Linked DNA regions of Homo sapiens: region 1 is linked to region 2. The links are contacts of gene promoters, found by promoter capture Hi-C in human tissues and cell types (Jung and others, 2019). All regions are on one chromosome and are shown on one strand. Each heading gives the region's core, a stretch centred on a gene start or on the middle of the fragment in contact. The rest is flanking DNA. Distances are from core to core; before and after follow the strand shown.

Region 1 (5,739 bases), core at 3,024-5,523, 440 kb before region 2:
CCTCTACCTCCTGATAGGCTTGAGGGTTTGCCAACCACACTGTGGCTACAGGTGGAGGGAAGAGGACTCCTTCCTCCAGAGTGCTATGTTCAGGAAGTTTCTTTAACCCCATATGGCCCAAGAGTAGCTCGTAGGAGGCCCTTTAAAGACGGAACAAGTAATTTACCAGTTCTACTGGGGTTCCTGCCCACCGTCCCAAGGTGGGCGAGGCCTAGGAAGAGGGTCATTCTTAAGCCACACATTAGCTGCACTGCGTGGCTGCAGCCAAAACAAAGAACTGGGTGTTGAGTATTCATCAACTAAGAACCAAAATCCAGGGCACTCATATGTGAAGGATAAGAACCTCACTTCCTTACTCCTCCAAAAAGAAGTGGGGAAAGAACCATCAAACCTTTCCTCCTGACTTACCAAACCAGGAAAACAGCAGGAGAGGGTGGCTCAGGACTTAGGGACAGGGTATAGCTTAGATGGTGGAAAGCAAAGGAGAGCAGGAAGTTGTAAATCACTGGCTAATGAGAAAAGGAGACAGCTAACTCTAGGATGAAGCTGTGACTAGGCTGGAGTTGCTTCCTTGAAGATGGGACTCCTTGGGTATCAAGACCTATGCCACATCACACTGGGGCTAGGGAAGTAGGTGATGCCAGCCCTCAAGTCTGTCTTCAGCCAGGGACTTGAGAAGTTATATTGGGCAGTGGCTCCAATCTGTGGACCAGTATTTCAGCTTTCCCTGAAGATCAGGCAGGGTGCCATTCATTGTCTTTCTCTCCTAGCCCCCTCAGGAAAGAAGGACTATATTTGTACTGTACCCTAGGGGTTCTGGAAGGGAAAACATGGAATCAGGATTCTATAGACTGATAGGCCCTATCCACAAGGGCCATGACTGGGAAAAGGTATGGGAGCAGAAGGAGAATTGGGATTTTAGGGTGCAGCTACGCTCACCCTAAACTTTTGGTGGCCTGGGGCATGTCTTGAGGCCCAGACTGTTAACCAGGCTCTGCTGGCCTGTTTACTCGTCACCACCTCTGCACCTGCTGTCTTGAGACTCCATCCAGCCCCAGGCACGCCACCTGCTCCTGAGCCTCCACTATCTCCCTGTGACGGGTGAACTTCGTGTACTGTGTCTCGGGTCCATATATGAATTGTGAGCAGGGTTCATCTATTTTAAACACAGATGTTTACAAAATAAAGATTATTTCAAACCACCGGTGTGGCTGCCTGGATGAGTCCTTGGGGGTAGGTCTCACTCAGACCCTGGCAGTGATGTGGGAGGGAGAGAGGCAGTGCTGGTAGAAGCAGCTCCAGAAGCAAAGGCAACAGCAGTAGAGTGACCACGGAAGCGGCAAACATTGTCTTCCCTTCTCTACCTTCCCTAGTGCCACCTGCAGGGAGGCCCAAAGCAAAGCCCCGTTGCCCTGCATTGGGCTGGCACTGCAGAAATAAGATGAAACACAGTTATCGAGAGGATGCTGAACATCTATGAGCAGGTTTTAAAGCCAAGATGAGTCTCATCTGTTTGTGTGGGTCAGGAACGGGTCTTCCTGAAGGCATGAGGTGGGACTGGATAATCTTTCAGATTTGTGATTGGATACCTCGGGGGAGCAGAGGCAGACTGGGATCTCAGGACTGCAGGTATTTCATACTTTGGGATATGGAATTGATGGAGGTGGAGAATATTGGGGATAAGGACTGAATGAAGAAAGGAGTAGGACAACGCAGGACAACAGTAGTCTTAAGATTTTCACTACACTTTACCCGGCACTAGTGATAGATAAACTCTTCTGACCCTAACCATCACCGTGTGAGATGGGGAGGGTGGTTATCTACCCAGGTCCCACAGGCAAGGAAACAGATGATCAGAGAACTTAAAGATTTGGCCGGGTGCAGTGGCTCATGCCTGTAATCCCAACTCTGGGAGGCCGAGGCAGGAGGACTGCTTGAGCCCAAGAGTTTGGGACCAGCCTGGGCAACATAGTGAGACACTGTCTCTAGAAAAAATTAGCTGAGTGTGGTGGCTTGTGAGGCTGAGGCCAGTGGATCACTTGAGCCCAGAAGGTCAAGGCTGCAGTTGCACCATTGCACTCCTGCCTGGGTGACAGAGAAAGACCCTGTCTCAATAAAAAGAGCTTAAAGATTTGCCTAAGGGTCCGAAGTAACAGTGGCAGAATTGTGGTTGTAAACCACTGAATTGGAATCACTGGAGGGCAAAGCTTTGGCATCTCTAGAAAAATTCCTACAAACAATTCTCATTTGCAGTCAGAATTAAGAACCACCAACCCAGGCTTTCTGCCTAAGCCAGTGCTGTGTCCAGAGCAAGCACTGTCCCACAGAAAGCCATAAGAATCATACGCTGCTTAGTGTATGCTTAAAGTTGTAAGCTTTTGGAAAGCGAGGCCAGTTTGAGGTAAATTTGGAGACAGAGATATTTTAGGAGAGCCTCACCAAGTATATTCCATTAGGAAAGGTGAGAACCCTGGGAGTCTGAAGGGTCCAAGGTCACACCAGGAGAAAAGGGATGGCATGTACCTAAGGAAGAGGGAACCCCCACACTCCTCATCTTGGGAACTCCCATGGCCTTCTTGAAGAAGGCTTGCAAAAGAGCAGAGAATAAGAGGTGTCTCTGGAGGCCCAGAGAGTACTAGGGGGAAGCTCTAGGTATGCACATAAATCCGGCAAGTTACAGTTCTGCCCACTATCAGTGCCAAGTCCTTGTGACTCAGTGGCTTGGTGGGGACTCTTTCTTATTGGTTGCTTCTAGGAACTCCACCCAGCTTCAGCAGGGGACACACTTCCCTCTACACTTCCTGTCACTCCTTCTGTCCACTTAGGTAATGGAAACTTGTTTTTAGGGAGCAGCCAGCTGAGACACATGGTCCCTGTATACTTGAACAGCCATGGAAAAGCTGCAAGGCAGCTTGGCGCTCCCTGGTGATAATTACTTCATCTCATCTCAACAAATCAGATTCTCAAGACCAGCTGCTCCCCGGACTTGCTTATTCTTTGTTCCAAGGAGACAGTTCCCAATGGATGTGCCCCTGTGAAAACACCCTAGTAAACATTTGCTTTGTTATTGAAATTTCACTCTAAAATCCCAAAGCTAGGTCAAGCCCCATTGCTAGTTTTACTGATGAAGAAATCAAGGCATTTTTAAAAGAGTAACTTGTTGAGTTGGCGGGTGCTTGGGTCTTTTCGGTTTCTGTGGCTTCCAGGGGTGGGCCTCTGAGATGGCCCTTAGCAGATGTCCTGCGATGCACTGCACGCCTCTTGTTGAAAGCATCAGGGGTGACCTGCCTGCGTCTGGAACCACAGCAGCTTCAACTTCCTCCACACACTTCCTTCTGTGGGAAGGTGACCAGCACAAACCCGCTCTGAAAAGTCTTGGGGACCAAATCTCTGTCTGAGAGGAAGGTAGGTGCAGTTCATCCACTAAGTTTATCCACCTGTTCTGTGACTCCTCTTCACCATTCTCCCAGCAACGACTGAGCCTCATGACTTGGGGGCTGGGGGATGAGGTGGAGGTGGGGGATATAATATAGGAGATGGTACAGTGCAGGGGCAGAGGCTGGTGTGTTCTCCAGGACAAGTGGCACCACGCACTGAAAGACTTTTCAAGATAAACACAACTTTGTCTCTTCAGCCTGGCAAGAGCTGAGGCACTGAAAACTTCTTTTTTCCCCTAGAAAATGACACACTCTCCTCCTAAGGGTCCCTTTGATTTTGTCCTGGTGGAAAGCAACAAAGAGAAGAACGTGAACAGGAATATGTATATTTCAGTTGTCATCTGAGTCCCATGGATAGGAGGCTCAATTCTCTTCTTCATCTTTCAGATCTCCGCAGACCCTGCCCTCTCACTGTACAATTCAGAGATTGACACTCAGCAGGCATTCAATAAACGTCTGTGTCAAATGAGAACAACTTGATGGGGCAAGTAGGAGTCAATCCTGCATCCCTCCCTCCCTTTTTTTCCTCTCCATTCGACCTTTAGGGCTCTGGTTTCCTGTAAGCAGTGAATTATTTACCTCTGCTCATAGATATCAAATTGGCCCTTCCCAGGTTGCAGCAGGGTGGGGCGGGGAGGCGGCCTTGTTCAGTCTGTTAATAGGAGGAGCAACCTCCTTGTTCAAACAGCACTTACAGGTGGGGACCTGTTTTTGCTAAGTCATCCTGGGGATGCTCAAAGCTCCATTGTTAGATCCTTTCTGTCCTCCTTCCTGGCTCCTCCTTCCTCCCCACCCCTCTAATAGGCTCATAAGTGGGCTCAGGCCTCTCTGCGGGGCTCACTCTGCGCTTCACCATGGCTTTCATTGCCAAGTCCTTCTATGACCTCAGTGCCATCAGCCTGGATGGGGAGAAGGTAGATTTCAATACGTTCCGGGGCAGGGCCGTGCTGATTGAGAATGTGGCTTCGCTCTGAGGCACAACCACCCGGGACTTCACCCAGCTCAACGAGCTGCAATGCCGCTTTCCCAGGCGCCTGGTGGTCCTTGGCTTCCCTTGCAACCAATTTGGACATCAGGTGAGGGGTCCCTCCTTGTAATGCACCAAAAGTGTTGGGTTGGTGTAGCTCAGGTGGGATAAAAGGAGAGGCTGAATGACCATGTTTTGGAGTGTCTGGAATAATGGGGTATGTTTTGTTAAGCTAGGTCTTTAGGTGCATGTGACATACCAAGAGAAGGTATATATTTTTTAAGATTAAACACTGAGGCTGTGTGATTTTTATAGTTTACTGTCTTTCTACTATATTACTCCATGAGGGCTGGTTCCAGGTCTGTGTTTCTCTCCACTGTGTCCTCAGTGCCTAGGGCACAGAAAGCACTCATTAAATATTTGTTGAATAAATGAGTGGAGAAAGTAGAGGCCAGGAATCAAACAAGAATTGGACAGACTCAAGAGACCTTAGCTCTAGCTGGACTTGGTTTTGCTATTTAATGGCTCTGTGCCCTCGGAAAGGGCGCTTCATTTTTCGGTTTAGTTTCCTCATCTGTAAATTGGGGATAATACCACTTAGCTCATAGGATTATTATGATGTTTAGGGGACAGGATATACAAAAGTAACTTGAAAAATATAAAGTACTATGCAAATGCAAGCAAACTGTTATTTAGATTGAGGATGATTTTTGTTGGTTTAAATTAGCCAAGTGGAAAGAAAATAAGCAGGAAAGAGAAAGGTTTTCAAAAGGCACGTGCCTCTGGGCATTACATGCACCTATTTCTGATTAATGGGTCAAGCTGTTATAGATCTTCAGCCCACACACCTCGAGTTCTCTTTTAGGGATTCTTCTATTTCCACCTATGATTTTAACGTACAAGCAGGGAGAATGAACCCAAGCGAACCCTCTCGTTATAATCCCCTTAGTTCAATTCACAGTGGTATGAAGGTGAGGAAGACAGGAAAGCAGGAAGGCTGAAGCATCACTGGCTGTGACAAACCTGAGCCCAAACTGTTCACTGCTCTCACTGTTCTTCCCTAAGTTTTCTGTCTGGCCTTTTCTAGAGCAGGAGAGACAGAAGTAGCAAACCCTCTTTCGAGATGTCCCTCCAGCCCCAGAAGTACCTCCAGCCTCACACCATCTCTTCAGCCTAGCAAGTTGCTGGAGGGAGTCTATAACCTACCAGGAGCCAGCCAGCCATTTGTATCAAGAAATAGAAATCTGCCAGGGTACAGTGGCTCACACCTATAATCCCAGCGCTTTGGGAGGCTAAGGTAGGCAGATTGCTTGAGCTCAGGAGTTCAAGATTAGC
Region 2 (6,356 bases), core at 1,425-3,924:
CTAAGCTTAGGATTTTTCCTCATTTGTAAAATGGAAATGAAAATAATACATTAGTCATCACAGTGACGATTTTAAGAGATAGTGTATATAGAGCACTTAGCACAAGGCCTCGCATATAGTATTTATTATAATAATAGGTTTTGAAAATAACCAGAATAGTATTCTCCCTAAAAAGGAAAGATATTGCTACTTGAACCTGCTTAGGGATAGAGGAGGAAGAAGAAAGTGTTTGTAACAAACATCAGTTTCAGGATTATTGATTAAATTTTTTTATACTTCTGGGGTTTTTTTTGTTTGTTTGTTTTTTGAGACAGAGTCTACCTCTGTCACCCAGGCTGGAGTGCAGTGGTGTAATTTCAGCTCACTGCAGCCTCCGCCTCCTGCATTCAAGCGATTCTCTGGCTTCAGCCTCCCGAGTAGCTGGGATTACAGGCGCCTGCCACCACACCTGGCTAATTTTTGTATTTTTAGTAGAGACAGGGTTTCGCCATGTTGGCCAGGCGGGTCTTGAACTCCTGACCTCAAGTGATCCGCCCACCTTGGCCTCCCAAAGTGCTGGGATTATAGGTGTGAGCCACTGTGCCTGGTCCATGTTTTCTTTATCCATTTGACTATCCATGGACATTTGAGTTTTTCCCCCTTATTGGCAATTCTTCTGCCTCAGCCTCCCAAGTAGCTGGGATTACAGACGTCTGCCACCACGCCCAACTAATTTTTGTATTTTTAGTAGAGACGGTTTCACCATATTGGCCAGGCTGGTCTTGAACTCTGACCTCAGGTGATCCACCCTCCTCGGCCTCCTAAAGTGCTGGGATTATAGGCATTTATTTACCGTTCTGCTTTCCCTTTGCTAGCAGGAATTTTCTTTCTCTCTCTCTCTCTTTTTTTTTTTTTTTTTTTTTTGCTTTATTGGGAGAAAAAGTGCTTAGAGTGTTCAGTTATTTTTTATATTTTTCTAATTCATTTCTTCTCTGGTTACAAATCAGTCATGCATGGATGTTTTATTTTTTCTGAAATCTCCAAGCACTTTAAGCAAAGGTTTTTATTAGCCCACTTGAGTAGTGTGTTCATGGGAGTATACTTCCATTGCGAAAGAAGTATTGGTTTACTTGTATCCAGAAGTTTTAGTTACTCTTGCCTGTACTGTATTCTAGGTCTGTACTAGCATTATAATTTTCCATCTTTCTCCTGTCCTTTGAGTACCTTATTTTTTCTTTTAGAAATTTGGTTTGTCTTTAATGGACTGAGAGGAATCTTTTCCTTTCTTTCTCCGGGTTCTGATTTTTTTTAAAGGTCTATTAACAATTTGTGCTTACTGTTGTTAGTATTCTTGTGTGCTTGGCTTTATCAGGCATCCTACAATGTAATGTTGGTTAGATGGGAATTAGAGGTGCTTGGAGGTTGGCTATGTCTGCCAACAGGCAGGAGGCCCCAAACTAACGTTTCCCAGTTCCATTAAAGGTTTCTAGAGCATAACTACTCTTCCTGTTTCATCTACCCCCTCCATACCCTCTTTGCTAACATTCTCAGTAGATCTTAATAAGCAGATGTCTGGAATTACAGCAGATTTTACCTCAAACAGTATTTTCAGATTTAGAATTTCTGTATCATTTTTAGGTGTTATGAAATCCAATCTAGGTGTAATGGAGTAAGAGAGTAAATATTTCTTTTTCCTAAATACTATTTGAAAAGAAGTCTGAAAATAGTGTGTTCCTCCACCCCCCCACCCATGCCCATCCTGCCAGTTTAGGAGCACTTTTGATTCTTTTTTTTCTTTTTCTTTTTTTTTTTGAGATGGAGTTTCACTCTTGTTGCCCAGACTGGAGTGCAATGACACAATCTCAGCTCACCACAACCTCTGCCTCCTGGGTTCAAGCGATTCTCCCGCCTCAGCCTCCCGAGTAGCCGGGATTATAGGTATGTGCCACCACACCTGGCTAATTTTGTATTTTTAGTAGAGACGGGGTTTCTTCATGTTGGTCAGGCTGGTCTCGAACTCCCGACCTCAGGTAATCCACCTGCCTCGGCCTCCCAAAGTGCTGGGAGCGAGCCACCATGCCTGGCCATGGAGCACTTTTGTTTCTTAATCTGGCCAATATTTTAAGGTTACAATTAGAATTACAGTTGTTTATATTTGTTCATTTAATGTAGTCAACATAATTTCCATACTTTGAACACTCTTACGGAATTGTTTATTTATAGAGACTAGTATAAAGTTGTTCTATCTTACTTAGTTTGAACTAATCCAGAGTTATACAATCTAGAAAGTAAAGAAAGTTTTTATTGTCTCTTAAATATCAATGTAATTGTAGAGTGTGAAATAATTTCTTGGGTTTCCTTGGTCCCGTGTTCTTCTGAGGCAGTGGTTCTTAACTGAGCAGTCACGTTAGAATCACCTGGGAAGCTTTTTAAAAAAAGAATCTGGGCTGGGCGCGGTGGCTCACGCCTGTAATCACAGCACTTTGGGAGGCCGAGGCGGGTGGATCATGAGGTCAGGAAATCGAGACCATCCTGGCTAACACAGTGAAACCCCGTCTCGACTAAAAATACAAAAAAATTAGCTGGGTGTGGTGGTGGGCGCCTGTAGTCCCAGCTACTCGGGAGGCTGAGGCAGGAGAATGGCGCGAACCCGGGAGGCGGAGCTTGCAGTGAGCCGAGATCGTGCCACTGCACTCCAGCCTGGGCAACAGAGTGAGACTCTGTCTCAAAAAAATAAAAATAAAAATAAATAAACAAATAAACAATCTGGCCGGGAACAGTGGCCTACGCCTGTAATCCCAGCACTTTGGGAGGCCAAGGCAGGCGGATCGCCTGAGGTCAGGAGTTCAAGACCAGCCTGGCCAACGTGGCGAAACCCCATCTCTACTAAAAATATAAAAATTAGCCAGGCGTGATGGGCACCTGTAATCCCAGCTACTCAGGAGGCTGAGTCCGGGAGAAGCACTTGAACCCAGGAGGCGGAGGTTGCATTGAGCCGAGATCGCGCCATTGCACTCCAGCCTGCAGCCTGGGCGACAGAGCGAGACTCTGTCTCAAAAAAAAAAAAAAAAGAATCTGTGCCTCACCCCTAGCAATTCAATTCTGTTTGGGCTAAGCCTGGGTTGGGACTCAGACATCAATACAGCTCTGCATAGAAGGTTTTACAGTATAGTCAGCAATAAGAACCTCTGTTTCAGGATAAAATGATTTCTACAAACATTGTTTCATTCTCTACATAATTAAATGTCACACCTCTACAGTCATGTGAAAGTTCCATTAAAAAGTTAGTCGCTATATAAAGTCTTTTATCATATGGCACTTGAAATATTTTGCTTTTGCCTTTGTATTTATAGCCATGAGTAAGTAGCTCAAAAAAGATGTACATATTCCTCTGCCAACTTTCCTGTCTCCTTGTCTGAATGAAAATTCATCATAAAGTCTCAGTGGTAAGCATTGACAGAGAAAATACCTAAGACTGTTTTCCTACAGAAACAGTCGTCTTGCTCTTTTTGTTCCTTTTTTATTAAGGATTCTTACAGCCTGAGAGAATGAAGAGCTGTGTAGTCCAGGATATCCGGCTGGCTACCATAGATCTGAGAGTCCAGTCTAGTACAGTAGATTTTTCTAAATACATAAGAATCAAAGATATGTATTGAATATCAAGCCAGCTTTAAACAAACATAGATACTAGTATAAAGTTGTTCCATCTTAATTTGAAGTAATCCAGAGTTACTACAATCTAGAAGGTAAAGAAGGTTTTTGTAATCTCTTAAATATCAATGCTAAAACTATTATGATAATGTATCACTTTGATAACAGATAAAACTTTTAAAAATGTAGCACTCATATTTTGATTCTGGTATTTATAAGTATAATAAAATACTTTATTTTTCCATAATTTCTCTCACATCTTAAAATTCTCACCAGAAATTCTCAAATGTAACTTCTAAGCTCTTTCTGTATTCATGGGAAACTTTAGCTATTTCACATACTAGAGAAAATAAAATAGACAGTCAAAGAATGATGAGCAAAGGCTATACAAAAAGTCTAGCTAATAATTTGCAGAGTAGGTTGTATTAGAAAATGTTCTAATAACTCAATGGAATGGGGCTATTGATTTGAAGTAAAATCTGGTATATTACAACATCAAAGATCTCCTATTATGCAAAACAAGTTTGAATGCACCTCATGTGTACTTGGTGTTTTTTTTTTAATAGATTTTAATTTGTTTCATTTTATACACTTGAAAAGTTTACTCCCTTATTTGATTCAACATATTTGCAAAATCTGCCAACAGTGTAAATGTTGAAAGTTCTAGATGGGGTTTTGAAGAAAGGGCCCTGGGTTTAAACTCAGTCTTGATGTATTATCAGCACCATTTAATAGCTAGTTGTTTGACTTCAGGTATGTTTCCTGCCTTCTCTGAGCCTGTGGTTTCTCAGCCATAAAATAGAGCTGATAGTACCTGCTCTACTACCTCACAAGATTTAAAAGAAAAAAAGATAGTGTAGGGCAGTGGTTCTCAAAGTGTAGTCCAAGGAGCCACTGGAGGTTTCATGGGTCAATAAGGATCTCCCTTATGTAAGAACAGATTCTCAATATACTTGAACCAAAACAAGAGATGACAACAGATTGAATGCAGAATCAGATAAGAGAGTCCAGCTGTATCTGTTAAAGCCAGATATTAAAGAGGATTGCAAAATGTAAATTAATATCACCCTTCTCACTTGTTTTTGAAAAATTTTTTAGGAAAAAATATGTTAATATGTAATGGGTTTATTGCTATTTTAAATATTTTAAAATTTCTTTTAATTTTGAATATAGTAAATATTGATAAATATAACCTATATAAACAACAGCTCTTCACAATCTCTAATACTTTTTTTTTGAGATGGAGTCTCGCTCTGTAGCCCAGGCTGGAATGCAGTGGTGTGATCTCGGCTCACTGCAACCTCTTCCTCCCAGGTCCCGGTTCAAACAGTTCTCCTGCCTCAGCCTCCCGAGTAGCTGGGATTACAGGCACACGCCACTGTGCCCAGCTTTTTTTTTTGTATTTTTAGTAGAGACGGGGTTTCACCATGTTGGCCAGGCTGGTCTTGAACTCCTGACCTTGTGATCCGCCTGCCTTGGCCTCCCAAAGTGCTGGGATTACAGGCGTGAGCCACCGTGACTGGTCTGTAATACTTTTTAGAGTGTGAGTGGATCTTGAGACCACAGCTTTTTAGAACTGCTGATAAACAGTAATGGTTGAGTAGGGCTGCTCTGCCTATGGAGTAGCCATTCTTTTATTTATTTTCTAATAAATTGCTTTCGTTTAAAAAGAACACAATGTTGGGGGAGGGGGTAATGGTTGAATAGTTCCTATCAGGACAGTTTCCTGCAGATAACTATAAACTTGATACACTTTTTTTTTTTTTCCTTTTGAGATGGAGTTTCGCTCTTGTTGCCCAGGTTGGAGTGCAGTAGCGTGATCTCAGCTTACCGCAACCTCTGCCTCCCAGGTTCAAGCAGTTCACCTGCCTCAGCCTCCAGAGTAGCTGGGATTACAGGCATGTGCCACCACACCCGCTAATTTTGTATTTTTAGTAGAGATGGGGTTTCTCCATGTTGGCCAGGCTGGTCTCGAACTCCCGACCTCAGGTGATCTGCCCGCCTCTGCCTCCCAAAGTTCTGGGATTACAGGCATGAGCCACTACGCCCAGCTGATAAAAGTTTTAAAAATTAATAGATGGCATTTGAGAATTACAAAAACTAGATTGAGGTCTGCAACTGGAAGAGGAGAACAGCAATGAATAAGCTTCTGTTTTTATGGCTTTTAGACTGGCATAAGGTCCCAGCTGGTGATATGAAGAGGTGGCTACAACTGTAATAACAACCTGTAATCTCTCTTGAAGAAAAGAGGACAGAGCTCACAGTGATCATGCAGCTGGAAAGTGCAGGAGAAAATCCTAGAAAGAATGTTGGAGTGGCAGAACCCCAAACACTGTTTATAAACTCTGCTTGAATTTCTTGCAAACCCCTCAACTGTACATGTGTGGAGCAGCCTCCAAACAGCACACTTAAGGCTAAAGGAGCAGAGATTTCAGCTGCTGTCCACCATAGGGGAGGCAGAACTTGGAGTTTAAGTCCAGCTAAGGTAATTGTCTGCAAAAAACAAAAACACAAACACTCTTTGGAAGAATATTACAGAATCTAGAGTGAATTGTATTAATCACAATACCTAGACTATAATCCAGAAACAATCACCCTAATCAGTGGAGACTGACCCCATAATTAGCCAAAGGTTGGATTTAGCAGAGAAGATTTAAAGCAGCAGCTATTATAACTATGCTCAAGGATGTAAAGCAAAATGTTGTATATGTGAACAAATAGGAAAT

Evidence for each region. The method cuts DNA at HindIII sites, captures the fragments that hold promoters and counts their contacts. A contact is called where the count stands out against the background at its distance.
Region 1: a contact is called between the fragment with the promoter of GPX2 here and a fragment that was not itself captured in region 2, in 1 of the 25 tissues and cell types used here (dorsolateral prefrontal cortex).

Annotation. Positions count from the first base shown.
Region 1 is chr14:64,941,279-64,947,017 of GRCh38, reverse strand. It overlaps GPX2 (glutathione peroxidase 2), which reads left to right and starts at 4,273. Exons shown (of 2, transcript NM_002083.4): 1 at 4,273-4,513. The coding sequence starts at 4,292. The region is part of intron 3 of CHURC1-FNTB (CHURC1-FNTB readthrough); the gene reads right to left. RAB15 (RAB15, member RAS oncogene family) reads left to right here. Exons shown (of 7, transcript NM_001308154.2): 7 at 1-1,202. The HindIII fragment of the contact is 8,107 bases long and covers 1-5,739 here.
Region 2 is chr14:64,495,002-64,501,357 of GRCh38, reverse strand. All of the region lies in intron 1 of ZBTB25 (zinc finger and BTB domain containing 25), which reads left to right. Among named protein-coding and RNA genes, the nearest start is that of ZBTB25, 5.7 kb to the left of the region's middle. The HindIII fragment of the contact is 7,112 bases long and covers 1-6,230 here.